2 separate regions of the Homo sapiens genome follow, and region 1 is linked to region 2. The links are contacts of gene promoters, found by promoter capture Hi-C in human tissues and cell types (Jung and others, 2019). All regions are on one chromosome and are shown on one strand. The core of a region is centred on a gene start or on the middle of the fragment in contact, and the rest is flanking DNA. Distances in the headings are between cores, read along the strand shown. Region 1 overlaps PIK3C2A (phosphatidylinositol-4-phosphate 3-kinase catalytic subunit type 2 alpha). Region 2 holds the start of PLEKHA7 (pleckstrin homology domain containing A7).

Evidence for each region. Contacts are between HindIII fragments. The study calls those that stand out against the background at their distance.
Region 1: a fragment that was not itself captured here is called in contact with the fragment with the promoter of PLEKHA7 in region 2 in 1 of the 25 tissues and cell types used here (thymus).

Annotation. Positions count from the first base shown.
Region 1 is chr11:17,190,092-17,196,290 of GRCh38, reverse strand. The region is part of intron 1 of PIK3C2A (phosphatidylinositol-4-phosphate 3-kinase catalytic subunit type 2 alpha); the gene reads left to right. It also overlaps the pseudogene RPL29P21. Among named protein-coding and RNA genes, the nearest start is that of PIK3C2A, 15 kb to the left of the region's middle. RefSeq lists an enhancer at 514-1,015. The HindIII fragment of the contact is 5,117 bases long and covers 724-5,840 here.
Region 2 is chr11:17,012,874-17,019,416 of GRCh38, reverse strand. It overlaps PLEKHA7 (pleckstrin homology domain containing A7), which reads left to right and starts at 5,003. Exons shown (of 27, transcript NM_001329630.2): 1 at 5,003-5,101; 2 at 5,216-5,292; 3 at 5,371-5,428. The coding sequence starts at 5,016. RefSeq lists a silencer at 6,301-6,543 and an enhancer at 6,480-6,543. The HindIII fragment of the contact is 16,980 bases long and covers 1-6,543 here.

The DNA.
Region 1 (6,199 bases), core at 2,033-4,532, 180 kb before region 2:
TTCACCCTGGGCTTCCTATTATACCTAAAATTCAGTATAGTATCCCCCATCTTGGAGGTATATCAAATTTAATAATTAAAAAAGTTTTTATTGATAGATGGAGATTTTAAGATTTTTTTGGAGAGATTTCTGATTTTTGATAGTTGAGCTTAGTGATTTAACTTGTTTCTGATTTTTTTTTGTTTCTTTTCTTAATCCACAATGTGATAGTATGTTTCTTTTCTTTTTTCTTTTCTTTTCTTTTTTTCTTTCGAGATGAAGTCTCGCTCTGTTGCCCAGGCTGGAGTGCAGTGGCACTATCTCGGCTCACTGCAAGCTCTGCCTCCCTGGTTCATGCCATTCTCCTGCCTCAGCCTCCCAAGTAGCTGGGACTGCAGGCGCCTGCCACCATGCCTGGCTAATTTTTTGTATTTTTATTCAAGATGGGGTTTCACCATGTTAGCCAGGATGGTCTCAAACCCCTGACCTCGTGATCCACCTGCCTTGGCCTCCCAAAGTGCTGGGATTACAGGCGTGAGCCAGCGCGCGGGGCTCCTTTTTTTTTTTTTGCAATAGAGTCTTGCTCTGTCTCCCAGGCTGGAGTGCAGTGGCATGATATTGGCTCACTGCAACCTCCGCCTCCTGGGTTCAAGCAATCCTCCTGCCTCAGTCTCCTAAGTAGCTGGGACGACGACAGCAACAACGACTGCTATGTGGTGCACTCCACCATGCCTGGTCAATTTTTGTATTTTTTGGTAGAGATGGAGTTTCACCATGTTGGCCAGACTGGTTTTGAACTCTTGACCTCAAGTGATCTGCCTGCCCTGGCCTCCCAAAGTGCTGGGTTTGCTGGCATGAGCCACTGCACCTGGCCATGTTTCTAATTTTTTTTTTTTCTTTGAGACAGAATCTTCCTCTTTCACCAGGTTGGAATGCAGTGGCGCCATCTCGGCTCACTGCAACCTCTGCCTCCCGGATTCCAGCGATTCTCCTGCCTCAGCCTCCTGAGTAGCTGGGATTACAGGCGCCTGCCACCATGCCCAGCTAATTTTTGTATTTTTAGTAGAGACAGGGTTTCACCAAGTTGGCCGGGATGGTTTTGATCTCTTAACCTCGTGATCCACCTGCCTCGGCCTCCCAAAGTGCTGGGATTATGAGTATGAGCCACCACACCCGGCCCCCTATATTTCTAATTTTTATAAAAAAATACATCACAAGAAATCCACAGGGTAAAATTAAGTTAGATTCGAATGAGGAAGTTTCATTGTGTCATACCCTCAACTTGGAAATGTGACTGCATACTTAACGTAACAAAATTTGGAGAAAAGAATTAAACTTTACAAGTTAAATTTAATATTATAGAAATCTAAGAGTTAGAATTAATCTTTTTTTTTTTTTCTTCGAGATGGAGTTTCGTTCTTGTTGCCCAGGCTGGAGTGCAATGTCGCAGTCTCGGCTCACTGCATCCTCTGCCTCCTGGGTTCAAGCAATCCTCCTGCCTCAGACTCCCGAGTAGCTGGGATAACAGGCATGTGCCACCATGCCCAGCTAATTTTGTATTTTTAGTAGAGGTGGAGTTTCACCATGTTGGTGAGGCTGGTCTTGAACTTCTGACCTCAGGTGATCCACCTGCTTTGGCCTCTCAAAGTGCTGGGATTACAGGCATGAGCCACTGCGCCAGGCTAGAATGAATCTTATCATCCAATGTCTAACAACTTTATGTACTTGAGAAATTGAAGCTCAGAGAGGTGAAGTGCTTTATTCAAGTTGAAATAGCTAATTAATAATAATAGGGATGGGGCAGAAACTCAGTTTTTCTTTTCTTCTAATTCAAAGTCCTCATTTGTTAGTTTGTGATGCCTGTATTTAGCAATTTCTTTTTTCTTTCCTGCCTCAGGTTTATTTGTACAAATAGCACAGGAGGTGAGGACCCCAGCCCCATGCAGACGGCAGCCTGGGCAGGTTGCACCAGTCCTTGTGTCCTCACGTTGGCAGGCAGATACCTACTCTGAAGCCTTTGTAGGAGCCTGAGCACCTTTGCGAACCTGAGCTGGAACTGAAGCTGGAGTTGCAGCCTGGGCCTTGGTTTGATCCTTGTCCTTGTCGTTTGGCCGGCACAACCCAAGCCCCTTGGCAATGCGGGCACAAGCACGCTTCCCAAGCTTGGGGTGGGCAATGTAGGCAAGTCGATGGAGCTTGCTGCTGACACCCTTTGGGATCTTGGGCTTAACCTCCTTTACAAGGGCCTTCATAGCCTCACCACGTGGACTGATGGCCTGCCAAAGCCTGCATCTTCTTTAGGCCCTTCTTGTTTTGCTTCTTGGCAATGCACATGTTCCTCAGGAATTTGGGGTCCACCCCCTTGAGAGAGTCATATCTTTGTGATCGGGGTTTCTTTTCTTTTCTTTTCTTTTCTTTTCTTTTCTTTTCTTTTCTTTTCTTTTCTTTTCTTTTCTTTTCTTTTTTTGAGACAGAGTCTCGCTCTGTTGCCAGGCTGGAGCGCAGTGGTGCGATCTCGGCTCACTGCAGCCTCCGCCTTCTGATTTCAAGCAATTCTCCTGCCGCAGCCTCCCGAGTAGCTGGGACTACAGACGCGCGCCATCATGCCCCGCTAATTTTTATATTTTTAGTAGAGATGGGGTTTCACCATGTTGGCCAGGTTGGTCTCGATCTCTTGACCTCGTGATCCACCCGCCTTGGCCTCCCAAAGTGCTGGGATTACGGGCGTAAGCCACCACACCTGGCTTGATCGCAGTTTCTTAATACCATTTCTGTGCCATTTTCGGGAATGTTGTGTGTGGTGTGGTTCTTGGACTTGGCCATGTCTGCACCCTAAGCCATGGCTCCTGAAGCACCTAGAACCGGAAGCTATATTCAGCAATTTTTAAGTTGAATTTCTGTTAATACCTTTAGATTTAAGAATATTTTTTAAATATAAAACTTAGTGGGATAACAAAGCCGATTTCTAAGGAAATATTCTTCAGGGAATTTCAGTTTCTAACTGCGGCGGAAAAATCTCTTATTTCAGGATAGTTTTTATTGGAAGAATGTCTTAGTTCATTTTCTGCTGCTGTAACAATACCACAGATTGATACTTTATAAAGAAAATAAATTTATTTGGCTTACAGTTCTGGAGGCTGGGAAGTCCAAGGGCATGGTAGTACTAACATCCGCTTGGCATCTGGTGAGGGCGTTCTTGCTGTGTCCTAACAGAGTGCAGGCGACCACATATGACAGAGAGGAAATCTGGCTGAACTCATCTTTTAATCAGGAGCCCATTCCTACAGTTATGGTATTAATCCCACAATTATGACATTGTGTGAGTGTACTCCCACAGTCGTAGTCATGAGGACTATGCCCTCCTGGCCTAATCATCTCTTAAAGGTCCCACCTCTTAATACTATCACAATGGCAATTAAATTTCAACATGAGTTTTGGAGGGGACATTAAAACCATAGTTGTTTTCATAGTTACCACATAATAATTGGCTGAATGTTTAAAGTCAAATACTGTATTTGCTATAAAAGGTTGACTAGTGATGAGGTTTCCATAACAGTTGTTTTGTGGCCAGGCACGGTGGCTTACGTCTGTAATCCCAGCACTCTGGGAGGCTGAGGAGGGCAGATCACTTGAGATCAGGAGTTTGAGACTATCCTGGCTAACATGGTGAAACCCCATCTCTACCAAAAATAAAACATTTAGCTGGTTGTGGTAGCACACACCTGTAATCCCAGTTACTCAGGAGGCTGAGGCATGAGAATCACTTGAACCTGGAGATGGAGGTTGTAGTGAGCTGAGATTGCGCCACTGTACTCCAGCCTGGGTGACAGAGCAAGATTGTCTCAAAAATACAAAAAATACAGTTCTTTTGTGGGGATTATTTGTAGTTGTTGGACCAGAAGCAATTATTTTTTTCATATGTTAAAAGAGTTGTATAAAATATGAGATGGAGATGTACAGTATAGTAATGTAGCTTATTCAGCTTGTTAAATTAAGTCTCCTGTTCTGATTTAGATTGACCCACAATGTTGGATTTAGCTTGGAGAATATAACTTTACTGTATCAGCAATATTCCCCAAAGAGCATCTTCAAACACATGTTTAAACAAATAATAAGAGGATCCATATGTTTCTATTACACCTGCATTATTAATTTATTTATTTATTGAGACAGGGGTCTCGCTCTGTTACCCTGGCTGGAGTGCAGTGGTGCGATCTCCGCTTGCTGCAACCTCTGCTTCCTGGGCTCAAGCTTTCCTGCCACCTCAGCCTCCTGACTAGCTGGGACTACAATCATGCACCACCACGCTGGCTAATTTTTCTATTTTTTTTTTTTTTTTTTAGTAGAAGCAGGGTTTCCTTATGTTTCTTAGGCTAGTCTCAAACTCCTGGACTCAAGCAGTCTGCCCACCTTGACGTCCCAAAGTGTTCGTAGTACAGGCATGAGCCACCACACCTGGCCAAGCCTGAACTTTTAACTAGCTTTCATCATTAAATGAACCTAAAACTTTTATGAAGATCCTCTCCGAGTTAGCTAAACTGTAAAGTTTGAGGACACAGTCTTCCATAAGACCACTTTCACTTCTGACACCAACTGCAAGTCTGGGGGCTGGGGAGGTTCCCAAAGTTTCGATAACTTGCTAAAAAGATGCCAGGAGAACTCACTGCTAAGAGCTATTATGTTCATGGTTACAGTTTATTTCAAGGAAAGGATACAGATTAAAATCAAGGCAAGGAGCCCATAGAACCAAGTTCAAGAGGGTCTCAAATGTTGGAGCATCTGGTATTCGCTCCCCATTAAGTCAGGAGGTGTTACTCTCAGTATCAGTATGTGACAGTATGCATGGACTGTTGCCATCCGGGGAAGCTCACTTGTGCTTCAGCATCCAGATTTTCAAATTAGGACTTCATTAAATAGGCATGTTTGATTGATGGATTGCCCACATAGTTGAGCTCAGTCTCTAGATTGGATTCAGACTGATACTGGGTGACCCAAAGTCCCCATCCTAAATCACATGGTTGGCCTTTCTGGTTGGCCAACCCTGGCCAGAAGGACACTCCTGTCAAGTATGACATAGATTACCTCTCAGGAGCAGAGGGCACCTGTCTTTGGGCAAGGCTAAATTCTTTAATAGGTAGGATGTAAAATTAAAACTTACCTCCATGGTTTCTTTAGGAACAGACTCTGTAGACAATAGATGGATTTGATCCTAACTCCATGTATTAATAAGAACCGACATAATTTCTTTCAAGTAGTCATTTAAACTACATTATAACCTCATTGGGTGAATCCTCTAGTATATTTTTATCCTGCTTGGGCTTCACTGAACTTCTTGGTTTTGTTTGGTTGATGTCTTTCTTTGTGGAAAGTTCTGGCCATTTCCTTTTAAAATATTTCTTCTGTTTCATTCTCTCTACTCTCCTTCTTGGACTCCAATTACACATTATATTAGACCATTTGAAATTGTCCCACAGAACTTAGACATGCTGTTGTATACCCTTCCCCCTCTTTTTCTCTGTTTCATTTTGGATATTTTCTATTGATCTGTCCTCGGGTTTATCAATCCTTCTGCTTAGTCCATCTAATTAATTATTGATTTTGAATATATTTTTCCTTTCCAGTATTTCTTTTCTGTAGTTCCTGTTACTATGCTGAAATGTCCCATCACTTCATACATATTGTCTATCTTTTCTACTAGATCATTTAATATTTTTATCATAATTTTTTTTTTTTTTTTGAGACAGAGTCTTGCTCTGTCGCCCAGGCTGGATGGAGTGCAGTGGCGCAATCTCGGCTCACTGCAACCTCTGCCTCCTGGGTTCAAGTGATTCTCCTGTCTCAGCCTCCTGAGTAGCTAGGATTACAGGTGCGCACCACCACGCCTGGCTAATTTTTGTATTTTAATAGAGATGGTGTTGCACCATGTTGGCCAGGCTGGTCTCAAACTCCTTACCTCAGGTGATCCATTGGCCTCCCAGAGTTCTGGGATTACAGGTGTGAGCCACCGCACCCAGCCTATCATAATTATTTTAAAGTTACTATTTTTTTTGAGATGGAGTCTCACTCTGTTGCCCAGGCTGGAGTACAGTGGCATGATCTCGGCTCACTGCAACCTCTGCCTCCCAGGTTCAAGCAATTCTCCTGCCTCAGCCTCCAGAGTAACTGGGATTACAGGCACGCGTCACTATGCCCAGCTAATTTTTGTATTTTTAGTAGAGAT
Region 2 (6,543 bases), core at 3,754-6,253:
GAGTCTGGTCTATGTTACATAACTAGCCATATGATCTTTGGTCTTTAATGTTTCATTGTTAAAGAATGTTTCTGTTTGTCTAAGAGAGATACTCTCAAAAGAAACATTTGGTTATTTGTAATTTTCTAACACATTTTAAAATAATTTTTAATTTTGAGATAATTATAGACACATGAATTTGCAAAGATAATAGAGAGGTCTCTGTTTACCCTTCACTCAGTTTCCCCCAATGGTTACATCTTATTAAACTACAGAACAATATCAAAACCAGGAAACTGACATTGATACAATGTGTTTATATACTTCTGTTATTTTATTTGAGTGTCAATTTGTGTATAACTATGATTGCAGTCAAGATAAAGAATTATGGTCAGTGCAGTGGCTCATGCCTGTAATCCTAGTACTTTGGCAGGCCAAGGAGGGTGGATCACTTGAGGCCAGGAGTTCAAGACCAGCCTGGCCAACATGGTGAAACCCTGGCTCTACTAAAAATACAAAAAAATTAGCCAGGCGTGGTGGTGTGTGCCTGTAATCCCAGCTACTTGGGGGGGCTGAGGCATGAGAATAGCTTAAACCTGGTGGTGGAGTTTGCAGTGAGCCGAGATTGTACCACAGCACTTTAGTCTGGGTGACAGAAGGAGGCTCTGTCTCAAAAACAACAACAACGACAACAACAAAAACAAAACACAAAACCCCAGAAAAATATAGAATTATTTCATCACTACAAAGATCTCCCTCATGCTATTCCCTTGTAGTTACATCCTTACATCCTCCCACTCCCCACCACCATCCCTAACTCCTGGCAACCACTAATAATCAGTTCGCCATCTCTACATTTAAAAAAAATATATTTTGAGAACATTATAGACCTTTTCAGATTGGCTTTTTTTTTTTCTCAACATAATGTCTTGAGATCCATCCAAGTTGTATGTATCAATTCCTTTTCATTACTGAGTTTTATTCCATGGTATAGATATATCACAGTTGTTTAACCATTTACCTATCATAGGACATTTGCTTATTTCCAGTTTTTCCCTATTACAAGTAAAGTTGCTGTGAATAATTATGTACAAGTTTTTATGTGGAAAAATGTTTCATTTTTCTGGGATAAATGCCTAGGAGTGTGAATACTGGGTTATATGGTAAGTAAGTGTTTAGTTTTTGGCTGGTCTCAGTGGCTTGCACCTGTAATCCCAGCACTTTGGGAGGCTGAGGTGGGTGAATCATTTGAGGTCAGGAATTCAAGACCAGCCTGGCCAACATGGTGAAACCCTGACTCTGCTAAAAACACAAAAATTAGCTGGGCTTGGTGGCATATGCCTGTGATTCCAGCTACTCGGGAGGCTGAGGCAGGAGAATTGCTTGAACCCAGGAGACAGAGGTTGCAGTGAGCTGAGATTGTGCTGCTGCACTCCAGCCTGGGTGACAGAGTGAGACTCTGGCTCAAAAAAAAAAAAGTTTCCTTTTTAAAGAAACTGCCAAACTATTCTTCAGAGTGGCTGTACCATTTTACATCCCACTAGCAATGTATGAGACATAAAGTTTCTCTGCATACTCTTTTGTCACTATTTTTTATTTTAGTTTCTAACATATAATTTTGAAAATCAGTGATAGGCATTGAGTTTTATTGATTACATATTTTGGCATTTATTGAGATAATTTCAGTGTGTCTCTTATTGGACCTATTAATGAATTGTATTATTCTATGTATCTATATGTATATGTTTTAAATGATAAAAAGATCAAACAGTATGAAAGGGGAAACAAGGTAAAGTAAATCTCGTACCATTCCTATTAGAGTTTCCCTCCTCAGAGGCAATCACTTTACCTGATTCTTGACAGTGTAGGGACTATATCTGTATGTTAACAGTAGCATATCACATGCACAGTACTGTAGCCTGCCTTTTCACTTTATTTATTTATTTATTTAGAGATGATGTCTTGCTCTGTCACCCAGAATAGAGTGTAGTGGCCCAATCATAGCTCATTGAAGCCTCAACTTCCAGGGCTCAAGTGATCCTCCCACCTCAGCCTCCCAAGTAGCTGTAACTATAGGTATGCGCCCCATGCCTGGCTAATGTATCTTTTGTAGAGATGGAGTTTTGCCATGTTGCCCAGGCTGGTCTTGAATTCCTGGACTCAAGCCATCCTCATGTTTCAGCCTCCCAAAGTACTGGGATTATAGGTACAAGCCACTGCATCTGGCCCATTTAATATCTTACAGACCATTCTATATCAGTACGTAGGGATCTATTCTCATTCTTTTTTACAGCTTGCATAGCATTCTGTTTTTGTTGTTGTTGTTGTTGAGGAATGTGCCAGTTTAATCAACCAGGTCTTTTTTGATAGACATTAAGGTTATTTCCAGTTCTTTGTAATTACTGACAATGCTGCAGTGAATACTCTAGTACACTGGAATTTGTGCCCCATGTAAGCACTAATGTAGGATAAATTCCTGACATGAAATTGCTAGGTCAAGACATTGAGGTTGGAATAGCTGTGCCAAATTGCCTTCGAAGAGGCTCAAACATTTTAAAGTCCCATCAACAATGAACAAGAATGTCTTTCTCTACAATATCTTTTCTTTCTTTCTTTTATGAGACAGAGTTTCACTCTGTCACCCAGGCTGGAGTGCAGTGGCGTGATCTCTGCTCACTGAAACCTCCACCTCTAGGGTTCAAGTGATTCTCCTGCCTCAGCCTCCCAAGTAGCTGGGATTACAGGCATGCACCACCATGCCCAGTTAATTTTTGTGTTTTTAGTAGAGACAAGGTTTCACCATGTTGGCCAGGCTGGTCTCGAATTGCTGATCTCAAGCGATCCACCCGCCTCAGCCTCCCAAAGTGCTGGGATTACAGGCGTGAGCCACCACGCCTGGCCAATATCTTTTCTAATTTATCTTTTCCAATCTGACATCTAAAAAAATAGTATTTCACCGTAAGTTGCAGTTCTTCTATTATGAAGTGGCTCAGTATCTTTTCATTTGCTTAAAAGTTATCTGTATTACTTTTCTATTAACTGTGGGTTCATACCCTTTGCCCATTTAATGTATTATTTAAAATCAATGTTTAGCTAGCAAAACACCGCTTTCCTATTTTCATTTGCTCAACAACCTCCTCAGAGGCAGGAGGTTCCTTCAGACAGGTGTCCCCCGTCCTCTGCAACCAGTTACCTCTTCTAACTCATAAATGCCTCCTTCCCCAACACCACTGTCTGTTCCCAAGGAAGGGCCCCTTTATGGTCTCATCAACATCTCACAGCCCTCCCAAAATTATGTGCATGCTCTCCCATCCCTCCCCTCTGGAGTGCTCTTTTCCCAGTCAAACCTAACCAGTCCTTCAGGGTCCAGCCTAATTCCACCTGTTTGGGCACCTTTCTGAATAACTAGTGCTCACATTGCATACAGTCTCACTTTCAGGCGCGCCTCCTCCCATCAATCAGAGCCTATGTCCCGAGAAGGCTGGGCCTGACAACAGCTGGAGCCCAGCTGCTGCTCTGTCTTTGCTCAGTGTGTGTGTGTGTGTGTGTGTGTGTGTGTGGCCGGGAGTCTGAGTGTGGAGTATGTTTCATTCACTCATCCTGCAGTTTTTTTTTTTAGACTGAGTCTCGCTGTTGCACAGGTTGCAGGGCAGCGGCGCGATCTCGGCTCACTGCAACCTCTGCCTCCCTGGTTCAAGCGATTTTCCCGCCTCAGCCTCCTGAGTAGCTGGGATTACAGGCGCCCGCCACCACGCCCGGCTAGCTTTTGTATTTTTTTGGTAGAGACGGGGTTTCACCATGTTGGCCAGGCTGGAATAGAACTCCTGACCTCAAGTGATTCACCCGCCTCGGCCTCCAAGAGTGCTGGGATTACAGGCCTGAGCCACCGTGCCCCACCCCATCCTACAGTTATTGAATGCGTAATGCATACATGAGTCAGGTGCTGTTCCAGGCATTGGAGACCAGGCAGTGTATGAGGTAGATCAAAGCCCCTTCTCTCATCCAGCTGACATGTTGGAACTAATATACAACAAACAAGACAAACACAAATATCAATTAAATGTAAACAAGTAATGAAATAGCGAGGGAAGGAGGGGAAGGATTTTCTTTGCAGAGGGCTCAGGGAGGGCTCCCCGAGGAGATAAGATAGGAGTAAAGACCCGAATATGAGAGGGTGCCGCCACTGCAAAGAGCTTTGCAGGGCCCCCTAGAGGCCCCGCCTGGCCACCGCTCTTCCAGAGATGGACGTGCTGCCGAGCCCTCAAAACCCCTTTTTTCTGTTACTTGACAGAAACTGAAGGCAAGAGCTTGCGATCCCTGCAACCTCAGTGGTGTGTGGCGGTAACCCTGCTCCCTCCTGTTTCACATCCCAGCTGAAAACTTGGGAAAATGAAATCGCGCTCGGCCTGCCGTTGATAGAGCACCTACTACATGCCATGGTCCGGTTAAGCACTTTATGCGATTGTTACTTCATTTAATCTACACAACAATCCCGTGTGGACTCGATTAACCTTACAGGGGAAGAGAAGGAGGCTGGGAATATGGCAGGAACCTGAGTGTTAACTTGGTTCACACACAAGCGGAGTTCCCGGGTCGGGAAGTTCTGTGGTGCGGGTCGGCTGGGGTTTACTGAGCGTTCGGGCGCTCGCCGTTTTCGGAGTTGGTCGGGTCCAACCGCGCGCCCCGAAGCTGCCCAGGCGCGCCCGCCAGCGGCCCCCGCCAGCGGCCCCCCGCGCCGCCCGGGTCTCCCGGCCTCGGGGGCAAAGGGGAGCGCCGGTGCCAGCAGGCTGGGGGCGGGGAAGGCTCGGGGACAAAGGCCGCGGGCACTGCGCTGGGTTGGCCGGAGCGGCTGCGAACTCCGGGCGCCAGGACCCGGCCGGGCGGTCGCTCCCTCAGGAGCCCGCGCCTGGATGGAGCGCCTCGCGGCGCCGCCGGGCCACGCGCAGGCCGAGCCCCCGCCACCGCCCCCGCCTCCGCCCCTGCCCGCGCCCCCGCCCCCTCCCCCCCACCCCGCGGCGGCTCCGCGCTCGGCGAACATGGCGGCGGCGACGGTCGGGCGGGACACTTTACCTGAGCATTGGTCCTACGGGGTGTGCCGGGATGGCCGCGTCTTCTTCATCAAGTGCGGCGCGAGGACCCGGGGACGCGGGGACGCGGGTGGGGGCGCGGGGGCGGGGGCCGGGCGGGCACCCGGCGGGCTGTGGCGGCGCTAACAGGTGCACCTCTCTGCCCGCAGTGACCAGCTCCGCTGCACGACCTGGCTGCATCCGCGCACCGGGGAGCCCGTCAACTCGGGCCACATGATCCGCTCAGGTGGGCGCCGGGCCGGCGGGTGGGGGGCGCGCGCAGCGGCGGCCCAAGTTTGACCCGACTTTTCTGGCGTTTCCGCAGACCTGCCCCGCGGCTGGGAGGAGGGCTTCACGGAGGAGGGCGCCAGCTACTTCATCGAGTGAGTGAGTGGGGCCGCCGCGCTCGCACCTGTGCCGCGGGGGGGGGGTCCCTCCCCGTTCCCGCCGGGCGCCCCGCCCTTCCTCTGCTCCCGCCGGCCCGGGCTCGTTGGCGCGCGCTGCGCCGCGGCCACACTCAACGTTTTGTGTGCCCAAGTTGTTTGGCGGCCTCCGAGAGGAAGGCGGTGGGGGCCGCACCTACGCTGGGGACCTGGGCCGGGGGGGAAGAGGCCGCAGACTCTGCGCCCTGGACCTTGCAATCCGGCTGGATTCGGGTGCTGGTGTGCGGGCTGGGCACGCCTCCCCTCTAGGGTCTGGGGCTGCGCCCCGCCGGGAGAGGCGAGTGCCGGGACCTGGATGGGCTCGGGTGGGAGGAGTAGAACGAGAAGTTCTGTCCTGGTGTGGGCCTGCGGGGTTGGAGTGGGGAGAGGGAGAGACTAGGGGAATCTCGCTTAGGAGGACGCCCCCTCTCCCGCCGCAGGCTCTGGGATGGTCTTGGAGAGTCGGAACCTCGCCCCCGGCCTCCATCCACTGCGCGGGCCTGCGGGGAGGGAGGGGGTGGGGAAGGGAACTGGTCAACCAATGACTTTCCTCGAGCGCTCCGCGTCTCTTCGGCCGGAGCTGAACCGGGGGATTGCTGGTGCTTCCGTTAGTCCACGGGCGACTTTTCCGCAAAAGCCCCGGAGTGTTGGCGCACCAGCCAGGTTACCCTGGGTCTGTAGGATCAGTCCATGTCAGATTGGGGCGCAGTAAGTGAAGGCGCGGGTCAGGCTCCTATGCCAGTACAGGCTTTGCTTTCCCACTCCGGCGGGAGTCTGTGTTGCAGCGTGTTTCCCTCTGCCTGCTGAGCTCCGGGAGGCCAGACACTGCCTTTGACCCCTTGCCCCAGTGCCGGACAGCAAGTAGGCACTCGGTAAATGTTTGTTCACTGAATGAATCAGCTCGCCAAAGGTCTGGACGGTGGTCTGACTAGTACTGACTGGGTGTACCTCGGCGACTGTGAGTCAGAACTACTACTGTTAGGAATAAAGCAGCCTATTTCAAGAAAACCCCGGAACCTCCTTTTCTGGTTTGGGTTCTTGCATAATAGTTGAAAATACTGATGGGTGAGATTTAC